Regions from separate parts of the Homo sapiens genome. Here all the other regions are linked to region 1. The links are contacts of gene promoters, found by promoter capture Hi-C in blood cells and fetal thymus (Javierre and others, 2016). All regions are on one chromosome and are shown on one strand. Each heading gives the region's core, a stretch centred on a gene start or on the middle of the fragment in contact. The rest is flanking DNA. Distances are from core to core; before and after follow the strand shown. Region 1 holds the start of UGGT1 (UDP-glucose glycoprotein glucosyltransferase 1). Region 2 has its middle 4.8 kb from the start of TRE-TTC1-1. Region 3 holds the start of MZT2B (mitotic spindle organizing protein 2B).

The links. The method cuts DNA at HindIII sites, captures the fragments that hold promoters and counts their contacts. A CHiCAGO score of 5 or more calls a contact.
Region 2: a contact is called between a fragment that was not itself captured here and the fragment with the promoter of UGGT1 in region 1, in 4 of 17 cell types (activated CD4 T cells, monocytes, fetal thymus and 1 more). The highest score is 6.5, in activated CD4 T cells.
Region 3: a fragment that was not itself captured here is called in contact with the fragment with the promoter of UGGT1 in region 1 in 1 of 17 cell types (fetal thymus); the score reaches 6.5 in fetal thymus.

The regions. Positions count from the first base shown.
Region 1 is chr2:128,089,787-128,092,515 of GRCh38, forward strand. It overlaps UGGT1 (UDP-glucose glycoprotein glucosyltransferase 1), which reads left to right and starts at 1,414. Exons shown (of 41, transcript NM_020120.4): 1 at 1,414-1,629. The coding sequence starts at 1,572. RefSeq lists an enhancer at 1,176-1,485. The HindIII fragment of the contact is 755 bases long and covers 1,182-1,936 here.
Region 2 is chr2:130,331,054-130,333,782 of GRCh38, forward strand. No RefSeq gene overlaps it. Among named protein-coding and RNA genes, the nearest start is that of TRE-TTC1-1, 4.8 kb to the right of the region's middle. RefSeq lists an enhancer at 1,342-1,892. The HindIII fragment of the contact is 3,328 bases long and covers 1-2,729 here.
Region 3 is chr2:130,182,106-130,184,834 of GRCh38, forward strand. It overlaps MZT2B (mitotic spindle organizing protein 2B), which reads left to right and starts at 157. Exons shown (of 3, transcript NM_025029.5): 1 at 157-347; 2 at 522-670. The coding sequence starts at 178. RefSeq lists a silencer at 1-412 and enhancers at 1,106-1,842, 1,843-2,579. The HindIII fragment of the contact is 5,492 bases long and covers 1-2,729 here.

The DNA.
Region 1 (2,729 bases), core at 164-2,663:
GCTGAAGTTATTTCCCCCAAAATAAGTTGAGAACTATAGTGTAGAGAAAAGAAACCTCAAGAACAGGGCGACTGAGCACAAGAGAGAAAAAACAAAAAACAAAAAAACAAAAAAACTGCAACTTGCTCCCAGGGACTGGAGAAAATGTAAAAAAAGGAAGGTTGGAATCCATCAGTGTTTTTTTGCTGTTGTTGTTGCTGTTTTTTTTTTTTTTGAGATGGAGTCTCCCTCTCTCGCCCAGGCTGGAGTGCAGTGATGCGATCTCTGCTCACTGCAAGCAACCTCCGCCTCCCGGGTTCACGCCATTCTCCTGCCTCAGCCTCCATCCTCAGCGTGAGCCACCGCGCCCGGCCTCCATCAGTGTTCCATTAGTCATCTCCTTCATCCTCCTCTCCTTCCTCCCCTTCATCATGTTGGCTCATGTTTATTTATTAAAATTATTTTGGGCCGGGCGCAGTGGGTCACGCCTGTAATCCCAGCACTTGGGAGGCCGAGGCGGGTGGATCATCTGAGGTCAGCAGTTCGAGACCAGCCTGGCCAACAGGGTGAAACCCTGTCTCTACTAAAAATACAAAAATTAGCCAGGCGCGGTGGCGCACGCCTGTAATCCCAGCTACTGGGGAGGCTGAGGTGGGAGAATCGCTTGAATGCGGGTCGGGGGGTTGGGGGGTGGGGGGCGCGGGCGGGGGCGCGGAGGTTGCAGTGAGCCGAGATCGCGCCACTGCATTCCAGCCTGGGAGACAGAGCGAGACTCCAACTCCAAAAAAATATTTTTGGCTTTTCATTCACTTTGACTTAATATACTTAAAAATATACCCTCCAAAGAGGTATTCATTTTTGGGTGGGTTAAATGCTACCTATTCCAAAACAATTTTAAACTGGTTTATATTAGTTAAAAAAAAAATACTAAAAGGACAAAGTAGTCCCTGTAGACTAAGCTGCCGCTGTCCGAATAAGAAAGCTCAAGCGGCTCATAAAATTTAAAAAGTCTTCCTTTCATCATGCCTCCTGGAAGGTAGCTATCAAAATTTTAGGGTTTAGTATAAAGTCTAAGATGCTCAGAAACATTAAGACAATTGTCCTTACTGTGCCACCGAAAGGCTAAAGGGAGTAAGCTTTTAACAAAGGTTTAAGGGAGTAAGTCCCAGAGTCCAAACTGGATTTCACCGACTGACTGTTGAAGCTTTCGGGTCTCAGCTGTTGGCCCAACGAACCTTCCCAAGACCTTGAAGACCGGCAGCCTACCCGCCACCCTGAAAGGCGGAAGTGAGGAGAGAGGCAGGACTCCCCCCTCCCCAACCCTCGGAGATGAGAGGGCGACCGCGCGACGCTCTGGGCTGCTAGGTCTCGACTCGGTATCCGGAAGTCCTCCAGCGTTCGCCTGCAGGAAGCGGAAGTAAAAGGGCGGCCGGCAGCTGGGCAATTGCTTTGCGAGGCTGGGTGTTGAGTCGAGCCGCGGGAAAGGCGCGTGTCGGCCTCTCACTGGCGCAGCCTGCACTGCCGCTGCCGCCTCGCCCCGCCCTGCCCTGGCGTTGTCTCTGGCACTGTGGCGGACTGACCACGGCCCGGGCATGGGCTGCAAGGGAGACGCGAGCGGTGCGTGTGCCGCGGGTGCGCTGCCGGTGACAGGTACCCAGGGGTGGCGTGAGGAGGCCTCGTGGACAAAGAGAGGGTTTGGGGCACAAGGCGACCCTGTGCCCCTGTCACATTGAGCTTCCGCCTCTACCGTGACTCAGTTTACCCTCTGGTGTCCTATCCCTTCCCCTATTCGCGAGCGCCCCGAGTTGCCCTCAGTGGTCTTCTTGGCAAGGTATCGCTTCCGCGGGGGTGGCGGCGGGCTCTGTTCAGCGGTCTTGAACCTTCTTTGAAGAGCTTTAGATCCTTGTGCCAAGTGCAGAAGGAAATGGGGGAGGTATCCTACCATGGATTTAGACCAAGCTTGATCCTCAGTGAGTTGAGAAGCAGCACTTTGCAGGACCCTGATTGCAGAACGACGTGCTTTTTAAAATAGATTTCAATTTTTCCTAAAATGAATTCGGGTTGATGCGTATTGGTTACTGTTTTCTTTTAACACTGTGATCTGTTGGCTGGAAATTGGATGATATGGTTTCACTTTTAGCGTGGGACCTGCCAGAATGAGATCTGCGTCCGTCGCCAATAACTTATAGATGTGAACTGTTTTTGTTCCTTGGCCAGAATCTGCAGTTGTTTTGCATTTCTTGCCAGATTTGAGAAGGAGCAATTTTGTTCGTTTGAAGTCCTGGGGTCTTTTGCCTTATTGTGCTACACTAACTGTTTTGGAAACATTCATTGATGTACTTGCCAGCCAATTTTAGTGTAAAGTGCCCTCTTTCCTTCAAGAATCTTACACTTGCAGGCGTTTGAAGACATTTTAAATAGCTATTTAACAGCACCACAAAACTTGGAATAATTGTAGCCTTTTCACTTTGCTTTTTTTTTTTTTAAGCCAGTCGAATTTAGCAACACTTGACTTGCTTTTGATAAACTTAGCTGAAGCTTATTTTAAAAAAATTCTTATTTATTTATTTATTTATTTATTTTGTAGAGATGAGGTCTTGTTACCTACCAGTCTGATCTTGAACTCCTGGCCACATGAAACTTATTAAAGGAAGTGACCATAATACTTTGTACAGTAGCATAGCACATTTATAATGCACATTGAACTTCAGGGGAATATATGAAAGTAAGAAGAAAATTTGCTTAGAACT
Region 2 (2,729 bases), core at 167-2,666, 2.2 Mb after region 1:
GAGCTCTTCGTACCCATCACCACTTCCAGACCGTTACTAACCCATCCTCTTGTAGAAAGCAGTCTTCCTGTGAAGAGACCAAACCATTCAACCAAAGTTCTATCCAACCCCCTTTGTTGTGCCATCTAACAAATACCCTAATTAAATTCTTCATTCACTAGGGACTCTGGCACTTAGCTCAGTATTCCTCTTCATTCCAAGACCTCCCTGAAAGGATCAGTAACTTCAACATCGAGATGGAACACATAACCAACATAACCAGCCTCTCCACTGAGCTACAGACCCACATATTCTACCTTGAAATCTTTAACCAAGATAGCTAAAATTCAACATGTATAAAACTAAACTCATGAAGCTGGGTACAGGGGCACACACCTGTAGTCCCAGCTACTCAGGAGGCTGAGGTGGAGGATGGTATCCTTTCAGCCTTGGAATTCAAGTCCAGCGTGGAAAGCATAGCAAGATCCTATCTCCAAAAAACAAAAACGAAAAAACTACGCACTTCCAGTCCAGTTTAGTCTCCAGTTTCTGCAGTGAAAGGCACAAACAGTTGCATGAGGCAGAAATCTGGAAAACAGCTTTAATTGCTCTTTCACCCCTCACATCCAAAACATTGCAAAGACACACTAATTCCACTACATCAGTATCTCTTGAACTCACCCACATTTCTTCATTTCTACTTTCACCAACCTAACCCAACCATCACTGCTCTGCGAGGCCAGAGTCCAGGGGTTCTCATTCCGGAATCAACTGTGTGACCTCCTTGTTGGGGGTCTCGGACAGGGCAGGAAGAAGGTGTTCCCTCCCCTTTGATTTATTTTTTATTTTTTATTTTTGTTTTTGTTTTTTTGTTTTTTTTGTTTTTGAGACGGAGTCTCGCTTTGTCTCCCAGGCTGGAGTGCAGTGGCGCAATCTTGGCTCACTGCAAGCTCCACCTCCCCGATTCAAGCGATTCTCCTGCCTCAGCCTCCCGAGTAACTGGGACTATAGGCGCCCGCCACCACGCCCAGCTAATTTTTTGTATTTTTAGTAGAGACGGGGGTTCACCATGTTGGCCAGGATGGTCTCGATCTCCTGACCTCGTGATCCACCCGCCTCGGCCTCCCAAAGTGCTGGGATTACAGGTGTGAGCCACCGCGCCCGGCCTTCATTTTTTATTAAGCACTGTGCCAGCGGTCTCCGTGGGTGTGAGCCCTTGTACTGCACGGGGTTCGAGGGACAAACTGCGACAGCATCAAGGCAGACAACACCACAGCAGTCTACAAATACTATCAAGGACTCGCGGGATGCGGTGGATCCCGGAAGAGGCTGCTGGCGCACCGACCCCGTGAGCCACCAGGCCCTGGGCCGTCCTGGCAGTGCGGTCTCCCGCCGTAAGGTGGAATGGGCCGTAGAGAGTGATTGTGTTGCCAGCCATGTGTCCGCGTTGCCTGACATGGAGCCACTCAGCCGGCTCCATGGCACCTGGAGGAGAGCCACACCCCCTCCTCACTCCTTGCCCGCTTCTGTGGAGTTTTTTGACAACCAGAAGTAGCCAATTAATTTGAGCTGCCCGAAGCACTTGATACCTTGGTTTAGGAGAAACTCTGGATGACTCAAAGTTTCACAATTTAGGAATGAGATTCACCAGACACCCGTTAGACGGCAAAACGTAGCTGTGCCCCGGACTGGTGCTGCCACCTGGTGGGGCCAGTCTGTAAGCAAGGGCGGCCTAGTGGCCGTCATTGTAGCCCACCAAACCACCCTGCTTGCTGGGCCCGCTGCTTCAATAGGTTTTATTATTATTTAGGTAACATTATTCAGATTAGGAAATGACTGATATTGAAAAGATAAGACATGAGTGACGCTGAAACATTTTACTCACAGTTCCCGAGAGAGCACGTGTTATGGGGTGGGGAGGGGTTTGATTAGCTCAGAGTGAGAGAGTCCAGTGGTTGCAAGTATGAACTTAATCGGGTGCCCAAGAAGGGAAACTGACCTCTAGCCAGGGCCTCAAAAGTGGGTCAAGGCAGCATTTTTAAAACTTTGTTATAGGAATCCACTGTTTTTGCAGTTTGTCCCTCCACGTGCTCTGTCTTGGGTTGAACAGTGTCTCCCCATCAAAAAGAAAAAAAATATCGTGTCTACCCACAACCTCAGAAGATGATTTAATTTGGGAATAGAATCTTGCAGATGTAATTAAGTTAAGGTGATTTGTACTGGATTAGAGTAGGCTCTTTTTTCTGTGTGTGTTTTTTTTTTTTTTTTTTTTTTTTTGTCTGTTTGTTTTGTTTTGTTTTGTTTGTTTGGAGATGGAGTTTCACTTTTGTTGCCCAGGCTAGAGTGCAGTAGCGCTCTCTCGGCCCACAGCAACCTCCGCCTCCTGGGTTCAAGTGATTCTTCTGCCTTAGCCTCCCAAGTAGCTGGGATTACAGGCATGCGCCACCATGCCCAGGTAATTTTGTATTTTCGGTAGAGACGGGGTTTCTCCATGTTGGTCAGGCTGGTCTCCAACTCCCAACCTCAGGTGATCCACCTGCCTCGCTCTCCCAAATTGCTGGGATTATAGGCGTGAGCCACCACACCCAGCTTAGAGTAGGTTCTATATCCAGTGACTGCTGTTCTTGCAGGAGAAGGAGAGGACACGTGGATACATATGGAGAAGAAGGCCACGTGAAGGATGGGGCCAGAGATCAGAGCGATGTAGCTACAACTCAAGGAGTGCCAGGGACAATCAGAACCACCAGAAG
Region 3 (2,729 bases), core at 140-2,639, 2.1 Mb after region 1:
GCGCCCAATAACTGTTGGGCTTCAATGACGCCGCGGAGGCGGCCCCGTCCCCGCGCTCCCGCCCCTCCCGCCAGGGCAGCCCGGGAGGCCAGACGTTGACGCTGCAGGGAGAGGGTGGTGGGCGCAGCCGCTAGGGGGCGCGGCGGGGCGGAGCGCACCTTTCCGCGGGCCGCGGGGATGGCGGCGCAGGGCGTAGGGCCTGGGCCGGGGTCGGCGGCGCCCCCGGGGCTGGAGGCGGCCCGGCAGAAGCTGGCGCTGCGGCGGAAGAAGGTGCTGAGCACCGAGGAGATGGAGCTGTACGAGCTGGCGCAGGCGGCGGGCGGCGCTATCGACCCCGACGTGTTCAAGTGAGCGGGGCGGGTGGGGGCCGCATGCTAGCCAGACACCCCCCGACCTCTGCTTTCCGGGTACGCCCGGCCCGCTGGTCGGGAGGAGCCCCCGCCCCCGTCCTTGTCGGGTCTTCAGGGAGGTGGCCGCGCCGGGCGGAGAGGGCTCACCGGCCCCGCGTCTGTCCCCGCCAGGATCCTGGTGGACCTGCTGAAGCTGAACGTGGCCCCCCTCGCCGTCTTCCAGATGCTCAAGTCCATGTGTGCCGGGCAGAGGCTAGCGAGCGAGCCCCAGGACCCTGCGGCCGTGTCTCTGCCCACGTCGAGCGTGCCCGAGACCCGAGGTCAGAGCTGGGCCCGCTGTCCCTGCCCCAGTGGCGGGGGTGGCGGGCGGGGAGGGGGCAGGCGCGGCACAGCGGCGGCGTGGCCCTGAGTGGCCAGGCCTGTCTGTCGGTCTAGGCCCAGCACCTGCAGGGCCCATCCGTGGGCTCTGCTCCTGGGCTTCGCTGCCAGCCTTAGGAGGCACGTCCAGGTCAGGTGGACGCAGAGTGCGTACCCCAGGGTGGTCCAGGCTGGGTAGGGCTCCTCCGCTTAGCTCCCCTCCACCTCTTCACTCAGGCCTTCATCCTACAACGTCGGGAATCAAGACAGTTTGGGGCTGGGCGCCCTGGCTCACGCCTATAATCTTTGGGACCCCAGGGCGGGAGGATCGTTTGAGGCCATGAGTTTTAGACCACTCTGGGTGACAGGGTGAGATCCTGTCTCTAAATGTTTTTCAAAAGACAGTCTCGATCTCTGTCCTGTGGTATACAGCATCCAGGGAAGTGCCCAGGGACCAGGGCAGGCAGAGGTCTTCCTGCCTTTACCCCACCTGGGCCCAGTTCCTGCGCAGGGGCTTGGCCAGTCCTGGTCAGCTTTCCCTCTGATGACTGCAGGAAGAGAGTCAGACGCGGAACTCCCAGGGTGCAGAGGCCTGCGGGGTCTGAAGGGCCTCCTCCCTCTCCAGTGTGGTGACTGGGCTGAGGAGATTCTGGGACTGAGAGTGTCATGGTGGAGCCTCTGTCCCTGCTCATCCTCTCCGCATGTTGCTTCTGCTCCCGATGGCTCTCTCTGAAATGCAGCACAACCTCCTAGGCCAATGGAAGAAGGCCCAGAGCTGGCTCCCTGCCTGGAAGCACGAGGAGACCCGCACAGGCATCCTGAGAAGGCGTGGAGAGCAGGCTGCCTTCATGGGGGGAGTGCCAGGGCCTGGGCACCCACACCCGCTGACCCAAGAGGGCCCGGGCACCTGCGTGCTGGCCTCTTCACTGACCTTCGCTCTGTCTGCTCTCTTTGTGTCTCTCTCTGACCTCCAGAGGCCTCCTTTCTCTCTGCCAGGAACAGTAGCCCCCCTGCAAGGCCCTCCTTTTCCTCCAGCCCGCAGCCTGCGGCCTCTCCGGTTCTGCTCCACAGCCCGGCTGCCACACACTCGCCTCTCTCTCCAGGCCCCCCGGGTTCCCTCCGCCTCTCTTGCTGCCTGTTCTCTCCTTTTGCAGGTTGCGTTTATTGGCTTATCTCTGGGGGTTGGTGCTCTCCCTTGTTTCCATGGAAACTGCCTGGCCCCAGGAGGCCCAAGCAGCTTTGAGCTCCAAGGGCAGGACCATGCAGGCCATCGCTGCCCTGCCGCTTAGCCACAGGGCACGATTTCTGACTCGGTTTATTAGAGACATAGTGTGGCAGTCTCTAGACCCCACAGTCGGGCTGGCATCTGGGGACAGGACCAACACCCCCACACCCCAGAGGCGAACTGTGGTGAGTGTAAAGAGCCCCTCTCCAAGGGAAGACAGCCGGCCAGAGTGCGGTGTGCTGTGCTGGAGAGCACAGCCCCAGGCGTGACAAACACCTCGGCCTCTTAGAAGTTGTCCCTTATCTGGACAGGAAGTCTGGAGGCTGAAACAGAGACTCCCACCTTCCCAGAGTCTCCTGGGCAGTGCCACACAGATGCCATATGCTGGCCCCGTGGCCACACTCCAGCACTCAGCCCCCTTGCCCACCTCACTCCTGAGTTAGCACACTTTCCAGGTGTCAGCAGGTGTGATCAGGGGCTCAGAGCCAGGGTCCTGTGAGAGCCCAGGGGTCTTTGGTTGCACCTCCTGCGTGCACTTCCTGACAGCGCCCACCTCACTGCCACCCAGAGCTCGGACCCAAGGGAGGGTGGAGAGGGGCTGAGGGACAGGCCTGGAGTAGGGGTGTATGCACTGCAGGCTGAGATGAGCAATTGAGGGGCAAGTGTCCAGCAGGAGGGAGAAACTGGGAACAGAGTCCTTGTCACTCCAGGGGATGTTGCTGCTCACTCAGCACTCACTCAGGGCTCTGGGAGCCAGGCCTAGCTCTCAGGGCAGAGGGTGTGGCAGGGAAGTGAGA